Regions from separate parts of the Homo sapiens genome. Here all the other regions are linked to region 1. The links are contacts of gene promoters, found by promoter capture Hi-C in blood cells and fetal thymus (Javierre and others, 2016). All regions are on one chromosome and are shown on one strand. Each heading gives the region's core, a stretch centred on a gene start or on the middle of the fragment in contact. The rest is flanking DNA. Distances are from core to core; before and after follow the strand shown.

Region 1 (3,920 bases), core at 123-2,622:
ATCAACAGGGTAGGATCAGTCTGGGCACCACTGCCCATCCATCACCTCTTATTAAAAGTACGAGAAGCACTTTCTTCGACATAAAAAAGGGTTAACCCTCGCTGGGGGAGAGAGGCTGTTGAAGACGCGCGTGGAGTGGGTGGGTAGCTGCTCTACCAACCCTTCCCGGAGCTCGCCCCGTCCGCGGCAAGGAACGCAGCAGCCTGCAGCTCCGAAGGCGAGGGGCGGCGTTTCTGGTTTCAGTCATTCGTCCAAAATAACTGTCGAGCTACTTAAGAGTTAGCTTTCACGTCTCTACCAAAAACCAACAGCAGTAGCAGCAACAACAACAAACAAGGTTTTTCTCCGGACCGAAAACTTTTAAAGTAACATTAAAATAACAGTGTAAAAACAATAACGAGTCACAATTGCACACCATTTTCCCCGCCGTTCCTTCTGAAAGGAAAGCTAGAACCCAGTTGTGGCCTGGGAGGAGTCCCTCCACGCCAGTGCTGGGCTCTTCCTCAACTGGCTGCTCGGGGACCACTCGGGGTGGCGCGGTGAGCGCGATTTCCCTCCGGCGAGCGGCGAGGGACAGTGCAAAAATGTCACGCTCAGCCCGTCCCCTGGCCCGAAGCGGAGGCCAGGCGGCGCGCGGGGACCCGGCGGCGGGGGCGAGAGCGCCCGCGGCCCCGACCCGCGGTCCCCGCCCGCCCCTCGCCCGGAAGGGGGAGAAGCCCGCCCGCGGGAGGATTCAACAGGAGCACCGCGCCGCCCGCCTGCCGCCCGGGAAACAGCCGCCGGCCGGCCGGGGCGCGGGGGGAGGGGCGCGGCGGCGGCGACGGCGGCGGCGGGAGGGCGCGGGCGGCCGGGCGGCCCCGAGACCCCCGCCCGCGCGCAAGGTCACCGCCCGCCGCCGCCGCCGCCCCGGCCGGGATCAGAGCGGCAAGTTTAATTTTCCAGAGGCTGCGGCAGAACCCGCGGCGTGGAGGCGCGCGCCGGCCGCGGGGCCCTCCCCACCCCCACCGCGCAGCCGGCCCGCGCCCCGCGACCCCCGCCCCGGGCCACCGCCAGGCAGCCACCCGCTGCAGCCCCCGATGCCGGGAGGCGAGTCGCGCCTGGCACCCAGGCGGGCGGCGCTTCAGCCCTGCCACACACACGCACACAGCGGCAGTGGCGGCCGCTGAAAAATGGAGCGCCGCAGCCAGAGAAGAGAGACATTTTCTTTCCGTTAACTGAATTGTTTCCTACCTCCGGGTTGCCGACTCGCTACTCCGCTCACTCCGGGGCTCTCCGGGATCCGCCGCCGCCGCCGCATCCAATCGCCTTCTCCCCCCCCCTCCCCTTCCGCAGCCAGCCCTGCCGTTCCTCCTCCTCTCCGCTTCAAAATGGCGCCAAGCGCTCTTCGGCGGCTGCTCCAATCGAACCGCCGCGGACAGCACCCGGGGGCAGGCAGAGCGCGGCATGGGTGCGCAGCGCCCCCTGCCGACCAGACGGCCCCGAGCGCGTCCGCCCTCCGAGCTCCACCCCGCCCCGTCCGCGCGCGCGCACGTCCCTCCTCAGCCCCGCCCCGTCCGCGCGCACGCAACCACACGGGCACGCCGCCGCGGGGCCCGCGAGAAGGGCAGCTGTCAAGGCGTCCACTACTCTTGCGGCTTCCTAGACCTCTACCGACAAAAACCACACCGATTGTTACGTAGCCCTATCTTTTTAGATAAAGGTTGGGAGATTTTTTTAAACCCTGACATTCAGCACAGGTGTTGTGATGGGTAAACAGAATTGGTATTATTAACTACTTTGCTCCTTACTTGTTAACTCTGACCTAGTCGTCTCGGAATGCCATACAAATAGTTTTCCTACACTTTACGTGTTATGTCTTTATTAAATCTCCCCGCTTTCCTAATTTGAGGAATTGTTTATAGGTGGTAGGCTGGCGGAGACAGAGTAATTGAGCCTGTGACGAAGCATTCCATTCCTTTGGCAGAATTGTCCTTATTAGAGGAAGAAATCATCTGGAGACCACAGGGACACATTCCAGGAGGTGGGTCTCCTCCCCTCTTCACCTCTAAGGGATGCCAGTCCCTCCTGCAGCTGTAGAGTGGGTTTAGCCTGGTCACCACAGCAGATCACCTACCTTGCGGGAAGGTTTCCTCCCCAGCCGGGTCCCTGCCAGAGCTGAAGAAGGGACTTCCTCCTCTTTTTACTTTAATACCATCCCTGCTGTAAGGAAGTTTCCCCTGATATGATGTATTTGGTTACTAGAATTTTGTTCCAGGGAGAATTTGTTTCAACAATGAACAAGCAAAGTGTGAATGAATGGATTACAGTAGGATACTTATCAACTGAAACAAAAGAGAGGTAATGCTGATATATAAACTAATGCTACTGTGTTAGAAAAGGTATGTACATCGGTATTCCATCGGACCCGGGCACCTAGAGATACTGAGACCTCTTCATTTCCATTTTTGTGGGATTCGCTGGACAATTCCGCCTCAGTCTCCTCCAGTGCTTGCTAGACCAATATGTTGTGTTACTGTATTCCTGTGTCCAAGATTTTGCCACTGAATACTCCAGGTTCTACCCATTTTATACATTCCTCGATGAAGTCTACTATGAGTTTTTTCTGCCCTCTTTTTAAAATTATCTCAGGAATTTTCTTATTTTACATCGTTGTTCCATCAACATAAATCTTGTATGGGAGAGTAGGATGTCTAGATCTAGAAAAACCTTTCCTCTTTGGTTGTTTTTATTATGTTTTTTACTTTATTTTCTTCAATTCCCAAACCTCCAAAGCCAGGAAGCCAGAAAGTTTCAGAAGAAAGCCAGGATGAAAGCAAGAATTTTTTTTTCTTTTTTCTTTCTTTTTTTTTTTTTTTTTTTTGAGATGGAGTCTTGATCTGTCGCCAAGCTGGAGTGCAGTGGCGCGATCTTGGCTCGCTGCAACCTCCCTCTTGAGTTCACGCAATTCCCCTGCCTCAGCCTCCCAAGCAGCTGGGACTACAGGCACACACCACCACTCTCAGCTAATTTTTTGTAATTCTTAGTAGAGACAGAGTTTCACCATGTTGGCCAGGATGGTCTCGATCTCCTGACCTCGTGATCTGCCTGCCTCAGCCTCCCAAAGTGCTAGGATTACAGGCGTGAGCCACCATGCCCGGCTAAGAGTTTTTGTATAAATTATTCAGTGCTCTTATCCCCATTATTTGACACCTGGAAGCCTCAGTAAATATTTTGTTGGATGTATGAATTGTTTAAGAATGTCACTCTACATCTTGTATATGGCAGTGAGTCCTGAAAGGGCTGAAGGTGTCACGTCAACTTTGTGAGCAGTTTTGCCAGTTTCACCATTAACCCTCTCTCTTATAAAATGATGCCTTGAATTTCAATGAGGCCCGGAATACATATTGCCCACGTTAGGCTGCTAACACCACAGGATTAAGCCCAAGAAAAGAGTGGGCAGAAAGGAGATAGCCTTCAAAATAGCTACATTGTAAGGGTCAATGGGGCAATTACCATTAGGACAGACAGAGGAAAAACCCTAAAGCTTTAATGAGGCATAGTTTCTAACAAAAGGGCATACTTTTATATGACTGCAAGTGGCTTTACAGAAATCAGTAATATAAACCTTCATTTAAAACAATATTGTTTGGGAAAACTAAAATCTAAAGTTGATATTTGAACAAAAATAATCTTCTGTGTTTGGGATTTTTAAAAATAGCCAAGTTGCAATTCATTAGGAGCAACATAACACAACATTGTTTAAGACAGTTTAAGAGTGTGAACCATTCAAAACTCAGTTGTGAATGCTTTCTACACCAAGAAAGAGAAATTATGTGGGAATTATGTCCAAATGCTGGTTTTATACAGAAATGGTTAGGAGAATTGTCTTTGATTATGAATAACCACAAATGTAGTTCCCACCTCTACTAATTTTACTTTGT
Region 2 (3,972 bases), core at 1,243-3,742, 2.4 Mb before region 1:
TAAATTAAAATGCAGGAAATTATTTTAATATAAATGTGGTTTTATTAGTATTAAGGACCTCCATGATTCTAAGATGCAACTGTATATTTTTTAAATAAATATAATTCAAATGCAGAAGACACCTTGTTTGTAAAATTCTAAATATCTTTAAAATGAAAATTATGACTATCAAGCTGCAAATTTAAAAAAACTCTAAGGAAGAAGAGTTACTGCCATATTCAAGTACAAAAAAAAAAAAAACCTTAAAGTTACCCTTTTAACAAAAATACCATGATCCATAAGCCAAGATGAGAGAAATTTGGTAAACCACAAATCCCTTCAAAGCATCTTATTAGGCTTCCAGTTCAGCCAACAGCATGCCACTTAGAATGTAAAAAAAAAAAAAAATCAGAGGAAATATCATTTTCTACAACTGGACACACTGATATAACTCACTGTAACTCATGAAAAAAAACTACAAATCCATGAAAAAATTTCATGAAAAAATTTCATGAATTCAGTTATTCATAAAAAATTTGTCTATAATTAAATTCCATAATTATAATCATAGAATTATACTATACACATAAGAAAGCCATTCCAAAAAAATTATGAATTCTTTCACTAAGTAAATATTAATCCTCTATTATAAACATATTTTTCTAGAAATTTATGTTTATAAAAGAAACTTCCATGTTATAAGCAACAATAACACGATACTTACATAGCTTTTACTTCAAATATGGATAAAGCTTATATAAACATATGTTAAGTGTGTTTACAAAAGAAGTAATAGATTAGGTAGTACGCCAGTTTTACAACTGAAAACAATCAACAAAATCTCTTCTCTGTAGTTAAATTCTCTTATATTGCCACTTTAAATAATTCCTCCAGAAGCCAAACTTTGTTAACGATCAGTTTCTTTCATTAGTAGAGCTACAATGCAAAATCCTTGACAATGCACTCTGACTGTAACTTTATTCACAAACTAATTTACCTACCTTCCTAACATTATCCATTCCATATTTCACTGTTTTAAGTCAACTATAACATCATTATACAAAATACATACATCTCTAATAAAAATGACTAATTTTATATCATATCACATTGGTGATTCCTCACCAAACTCCCACAATCCACCTAGTAGTAAAAATAGGTCTCTAGACCTTTGGGAAACAAAGCAGAAAAATTACAGCCACCGCTCTGTTGAAGAAGTCCTACACTTTAGTGCATGCTTAAAACTTCACTCTGCCCAGCTTTTAATTCTTTGGCCAAGGCATGTGAGAAACAGCACCTAAAAACCAAGTATTTATGAGTATCCTTACATAGGAAGAAAAAATAAACAGGAAAAAGAAAGAAAAATATACTGACAAAGGCGACTGAGACAAAGGTATTGTTTAAGGTAGAAACTCCTCTTTTTTTTGAAGTTTCATTAGTTCTCCTTTCTTTTCTGTCATTCAGGGCACAGTAATAGGTATTTCACTATTTCACCTTACATTTTTATTTAATGTGTTAAACTAAAACTGAAAATTTTAAAAAATCATTTTAGATTTAATATTAAAGGTTTCCAAACTCTAACGAGTCACTGAGTGTCCTATATGAATTTTATTGGTTTACTTACTAAATAAATAGAATTAAGTTTGATAATCAGTTTTTTAAATGCCCATGACTTCCACATATTTTTGAGAATCCACTTAAATTTTCATATGACATTTTCATGAGTGTATTGGACAATAAAGCCCTAAATCTACAGTTCAAGAAAATTACACTTCAAATGACTAATTTATACTCCACAATTAATATAATTAACAACTTAGTAATAAACAGCTCCTTTTGTCATTTATTCTTTTCTCCAAAAGTTTCTATTTAAAAATCTATTGCATTCTTTAAATACATACAAAGAAATTTTAAACCTAACTCTTTAAATTCCAAATATCATTGCAGTTACAAAATCTTAGGTAGATTTGGGGATATACTATCTCAGTATTACTTTATTTCTAGTGACTCTAAGCTTAATGGTAAAGTTCTCTAAAATAACGTCTGCATACTGAAACTTCATGTCAGATTTTCATTGCTCTGAAGAGTTAAATTTCTTTTTTATCTCAAGAGAAACATTTCACTTCCTTTCTTAGTCTACCGTATATCTAAAAAACCCCATCTGTTAAGAACTGATTCAGCACACATTGCTACTGCTGCAGAGTCCAAACTGGTTATACATTCAAATCAGTTTCCAGGTTGTGAAAGCTCTACTGCCTCTTACCAGGTTAAAATGTATTAAGTAAGCATAGGAATACTTACTAAAATAGCCTAATATAATCTAACTTAAAAATGATATTGGTTAGATCAAAACTGCAACTAAAAATGTGTTCCTTTAAATTACAGAAATACAGTTACCTGCTAACATACTAACAGTTTGAGATTTATCTTCTTTTAAAAAGAAATGGCAAGTACTGACCTCTTATTTGCAGCTAGTTAAAATTAAAACTCAAGAAAACTGTATTTCTAGTAGTGTTCTGAAAAGAACTTGGTTATATCAACTTAGTGACATTCCCTCAAACTTACACTGACTTTTCATGATGATTTATTTGAAAGGTACAAAAAAGTAAAAAGAGGTGTTTTGTTTTAAACAGCAATGAATATAACAAAGACAGATAATCTCCTTTGACCTGACACACTAGCAAAAGGAAAAAAACAGCTTCAACTTTTCTGTGCATTTACGAGGTTCATAAACCGTAGACATTATCTAATGCATGTCTCAGGACACCACTGATGTAGCTGCAGCTTTCTCTCAGTTTTCCAATAGAGTAAGTAAAAATAATTGCTTAGCTGAAAAATGACTGCATGGGTGTTACAAAGTACCCCTGTAAGCATATTGTTATATTCCTGTGACCCCACACCAAATACAATACTCAACTGATTGCTCTCGATTTATGTCTTGCCTCCCAAAGCCCAACCTTACAGTATGTCAAAGACTAGATCTATTGCAGAGAAAACTGTTTAAAAAGCTTGGCTGCATTTAAAAACAAAACAAAACAAAACAAAACCTCCATTTACAAAGCACTAAATATGAACTACTGTTAATTATCCTCAATGTATGATTCTCCTCTCCTTCTTTCCATTTCTTTCCCTGACATCTTAAACGCTTCTGAGCCTCTCTGTAGATAGCGCAAAACATTAAGTCATACACACTTCTGCAGTAACTCTTTCTTACCATGAAAGGAACCAAAACCTAGGGCTGCGTTTAAAACCTTTCCTTTAGTCTTTACCCACATGCCACACTACTGAAAGTAACCACAGAAATCAACCTGTGTGATTTGGTGTCCTCACACACCTTGTGTGCACAAAAAATGACTAAGAGATCAGTATATTCAGGGCAATATTACAAAGAAGGGACGGCTGCTTCTGAGATGGAGGGGGATGGATACAGACACAACACTCTCCATCATGGCCTTGGAATATTTAAAGACAGATGCAAAACTGCATCATTTTCTGTCTCCTTCGAAAACATCACACCCCAGCTGCTCAAGTTGGAAGCTAATGCGCTTCTCACATTTCAGCAGCACGGGGGAATTTAGGCTCCAGGGGCAAGGCTGTCATCCTCGGAGAGCGACACCAAGGACAATTAAGTGTGAGAAAAAGAACCCCAGAGAACAGGAGGCCTCCTCACCTCCTAACTAAACTCTAAAGTCGACCCAAAACCTTCACCGCGGGTACTGGGTTACTCGCGGTCCTAAAAAGTGAGAAGAAGCGGTGTTAAGTTGGGCACTGCGCTCAGGTGGCAGGAGAGGACCAGAAAGAGGAGAGGAGGGAGGTGGCGTGGCTCTAGCAGCGCGCAGGCAGGTCACCCGCTGGGCAATACCGGCTGAACGCTCTGCGCTCCCAGGGACGCGCGGCGCGTGTGACCCTGGGGGTGAAGGGTGGGAGGGAAAGGCGCTGGGGACGGTGTATGTGGGGACTGGGGAAGCAGATTGAGAGCACGCCTTTTCCTTA
Region 3 (3,790 bases), core at 175-2,674, 2.6 Mb before region 1:
ATTAGTTTTCACAATAAAAATCATCAACTATTCTTTCTAATTTTTGACAAGTACATGTGAGTATAAATCTTAAAATATGCTATTTTCATGGTACATTGTATAGGAAAACATATAAAAGCATCCTGAGAATAGTAAAGTATGATCAGTCCTATGACATAAACAAAAGAACAGCAAAACCAACAACATTATTCATAATTTTTCCAAATCTATTTATGATACATTCTGATAATAAAAATAAACTAAAATTAAGACTTTGTTATTTTTGGACAGAATAGAAAAAGCAGCTCTTCTTTCTTATAATTATGAAACTATTAGGAGAGCTAGAAATGTCAGTCTCTACTATTTTTCTGGGACAGAGAAAATTAAGCCCTGAATTAAGCTCCATAATATTCAGTGTTCTGGATGGCTGACTAAAGTGGTCAACTTAAAATCACAAAGTGTGCAATTTGTGGTTGATCCATGTTCTTTGCTTTTCTTTTTCTTCTCCAATTTTTCACTTTCATTTATGACCAAGTTAAACAATATATTAGAGAATAAATGAGAGGATTCAATTAACTAGTCACAGAAACATCAACTAAAAAAATCAACAACAACAAAAATAATGCTGCTTTCCCAAAGCAAAGATTGGCCAAACTACATACTAAGAGGTCTATTTTTTTTCCCTGAGTACAGTTAAAACTATTGGTCTAACTCGGAGATCTGAAACTATTTTTGTAATTTATTTTCTATGCTACATATGAATTTAAGTAATCTGGGCAAAACTGAAACTCCCATAAAGTGCTGCTTCTTCAAGAGTACTAAGTTCAAGGTGCTCAAACTATCATTATAAACAATATATATATGTTCTTTTTTTCTTAAGTTTCCATTAAGATATGTACCTTCCAACTAAGATTAAACAGTTCAAAAATTTTCTTCCATGATGATGATACTATAACAGCAATACAAAAATGTTATCTCTAGTATAAATTACTGTACTCATCTAAATTTCCAGGGCAGAAAAGAGACCACTTCTATGTCAATCTCACAGAAACAGCAGACAAAAAATATTTGTTTATGTATTGTCTATTGCTGCTTTTGTACTATCACAGCAGAGTTGACTAGCTGTGACAGATAACAATACTGCCAATGAAACCTAAACTATTTCCCATCTGGCCCCATACACAAAAGTTTGTGAACTACTGCCATAAACCATTATTATTCCTATTTCTTCATAAAATGCACACAAGAATATTCTGAAAAACTATATATATATAAACAAAATTACCAGCTCACTCAAACCTTAGTTTCAAATGTTTCCATCTCTCTTCATATATCTAGGATTAAAATTCTAAAAGCACCTACAAGACAATGTTTCCTTTCAGTAATCTTCACGTTGCCAATGTTTCCTTTTTTCACTTATCCCTTCCAAAATTCTCTTTTGGCTTTTTACACTTTAAATTTAAATATAAAAAGCCCAAATATTCGGTTTAATTTCCCTCATTATTCAACCTCCTCTTTCCCAACTTTTTCCCTCTGCTATGTTACAACTTCTAGCAAGAATATTATACAACCCAGTAATACAAAAACAACATTCATAATAGAAAAACAACATTCAGCAGTCAGCACCAATCATAGTTCTACCAGATACAAAATGGGAGAAAGGTTCGGCTATTTCTCTTAAGGAAGCAATTCATTCTAAAAACATAAAATCAGCTATGTTGTACAACCAGGCATAGGTCCAAACAGTTAATGGGCCAAAATAACAGAAATATAGAAATTGAGAAAATAAACAAAGGTTTCTATAATTGAATGAATTCCCAAGTCTGTTGAGATAGTCTAGGTAATAAATAATTTTAAATTCCAAACTACAGTGGTCAAAATTGAATCGTAATAATTTTGGAAGCCAACCTCAAAGCGTCAGTATCTTTACTGTACAATCATCATAAAACAAATAAGCAAATTTGACTGGTGCAATAGTATGTATGTTATAGTTTACTTCATTACTTTAATATTCTATCTTAATAGTTAAAGATCTTTTGCCTTTAAAATTTGGAAAACTATTTAGTAATGTGAATATTTTAAACCTATACAAATTGAAATAACTTATTGCTAAACTGTTTTTTTTACATAAGAAGCATTTTATGTTCCATGCAAAATTTAAAAACATTCAATATTACATTTCAAAGTGAATTTCAATACAACCTTTTAAAAATTTCTTCATAACAAATGATAATTTATAAAACAAAATGCAATTTATATGATCAAGAAAAATGTCACAAAGAAAATATTGATTTATTCAGTCTTCAATATATAAAACAAAAAACACGTTGGCCGGGAGCAGTGGCTCATGCCTGTAATCCCTGCACTTTGGGAGGTTGAGACAGGCAGATCATTTGAGGTCAGGAGTTTGAAACCAGCCTGGCCAACATAGTGAAACCCCATAACTACTAAAAATACAAAAATTAGCTGGGTGTGGTGGTGCACACCTATAATCCCAGCTACTTGGGAGGCTGAGGCAGAGGAATTGCTTGAACCCAGGAGGCGGAGGTTGCAGTGAGCTGAGATCGCCCTACTCTGCTCCAGCCTGGGTCACAGAATGATACTCTGTCAAAAAAAAAAAAAAAGAAAAGAAAAGAGAAGAAAAAAATGCCCTCTATGTCTCACTATTAGAAAGCATTTTAAAAATCATACACAACTCTCAATTTACCAGAATTTGGTATAAATCACCAGAGGAAAAGAGAGATTAAAGAAAAGGAGTGGTGTATGTATACTTGCACTCTTCACACACCATCAACAATTTATACTGTTCTTCTTAGCTCCATTTCCTTGGTTCAGCTGCTAATTTGATTAAGGCCCTACTGGTGACTTGCTCTGTTGCATTCCTCCTTCTGAACTGGAATGCTTCCCTTTGTGGACTTCTTGAGCAAATTCATGAATAAAACAGAAGAGTAAGGCCTGGGGAAAGTGTGTGAGGATATAGCCTATGGCTGCTAATGTTGAAGTTTCAAGGCTGCTCTGGTGATGGTGGTGGCATTAACAAAAGAACAGTAAGAAAAAGAGTCATGTAGAAAAAGCTTGTTAATGATGAAATACACTTAGAGATCAACTTGGAAACAGTGTCTCACCAACTAAAGCACATCTTAGTAAAATGAAATATTTCCCTCTGGCAAAGGTATGCTTTCTGAGCTTAAGGATGAGTTTCTAATACGGCAACAAGAACGTGGGTAATATGGGAAGCAAAATTCTATATTCTTTCCCATCTGAGCAAGTAGCTATGGAGTCTGCCTTGGTCTGAATCAAAGAATTTGTTTTTAATGACAACTAAAATACAAAGTTAACATTGACCTATTTTATTTTAAATGACATACACAATTAACATTAAATGCCTTTAAAATGTATTATATTAACACATTTCAATGTTTTATATAGAAACAAATCAAGACAAGGCTAGATTTTGTAAAATAAATGTTGAATCAGTAAATAAATGAAAATGTTAAATAACAAGGATTTTAAGAGTTTATTTATACTACAGATTTGAAGAGATATACAATATCTTTGATGAAGAATGCAATACTCTTCTGATGAAGTATTCATCAGAATTACCAGAGAAACATTTTCATAAGCACACACAGCTGGAACCCAACACTGATAAACAAAAGTGGTGGAAATAGAAATTTAAATGGTTAAAAATTTGCCTAAAAAGTACAGGTCTGGTTAAAATGTGTTTATAGCCTAGACCACCACTGAAATGCTAAAGTCATGTATTTATAAAATATAACCACTAGATGGAGGCAAAGTACTTACAGTTGGT

The links. Contacts are between HindIII fragments. The CHiCAGO score rates a contact against its expected background, and 5 or more counts as called.
Region 2: a fragment that was not itself captured here is called in contact with the fragment with the promoter of PDS5B in region 1 in 1 of 17 cell types (fetal thymus); the score reaches 6.6 in fetal thymus.
Region 3: a contact is called between a fragment that was not itself captured here and the fragment with the promoter of PDS5B in region 1, in 2 of 17 cell types (naive B cells and total B cells). The highest score is 8.8, in naive B cells.

Annotation. Positions count from the first base shown.
Region 1 is chr13:32,583,904-32,587,823 of GRCh38, reverse strand. PDS5B (PDS5 cohesin associated factor B) reads right to left here and starts at 1,372. Exons shown (of 35, transcript NM_015032.4): 1 at 1,231-1,372. It overlaps PDS5B-DT (PDS5B divergent transcript), which reads left to right and starts at 1,379. Exons shown (of 3, transcript XR_001749808.1): 1 at 1,379-1,447; 2 at 1,902-2,020; 3 at 2,255-2,806. RefSeq lists an enhancer at 268-327 and silencers at 558-807, 1,228-1,307, 1,318-1,687. The HindIII fragment of the contact is 4,434 bases long and covers 1-3,525 here.
Region 2 is chr13:34,943,116-34,947,087 of GRCh38, reverse strand. The region is part of intron 1 of NBEA (neurobeachin); the gene reads right to left. Among named protein-coding and RNA genes, the nearest start is that of NBEA, 2.8 kb to the right of the region's middle. RefSeq lists a silencer at 3,178-3,267. The HindIII fragment of the contact is 994 bases long and covers 1,996-2,989 here.
Region 3 is chr13:35,164,503-35,168,292 of GRCh38, reverse strand. NBEA (neurobeachin) reads right to left here. Exons shown (of 59, transcript NM_001385012.1): 24 at 3,784-3,790. Among named protein-coding and RNA genes, the nearest start is that of NBEA, 220 kb to the right of the region's middle. The HindIII fragment of the contact is 3,263 bases long and covers 1-3,055 here.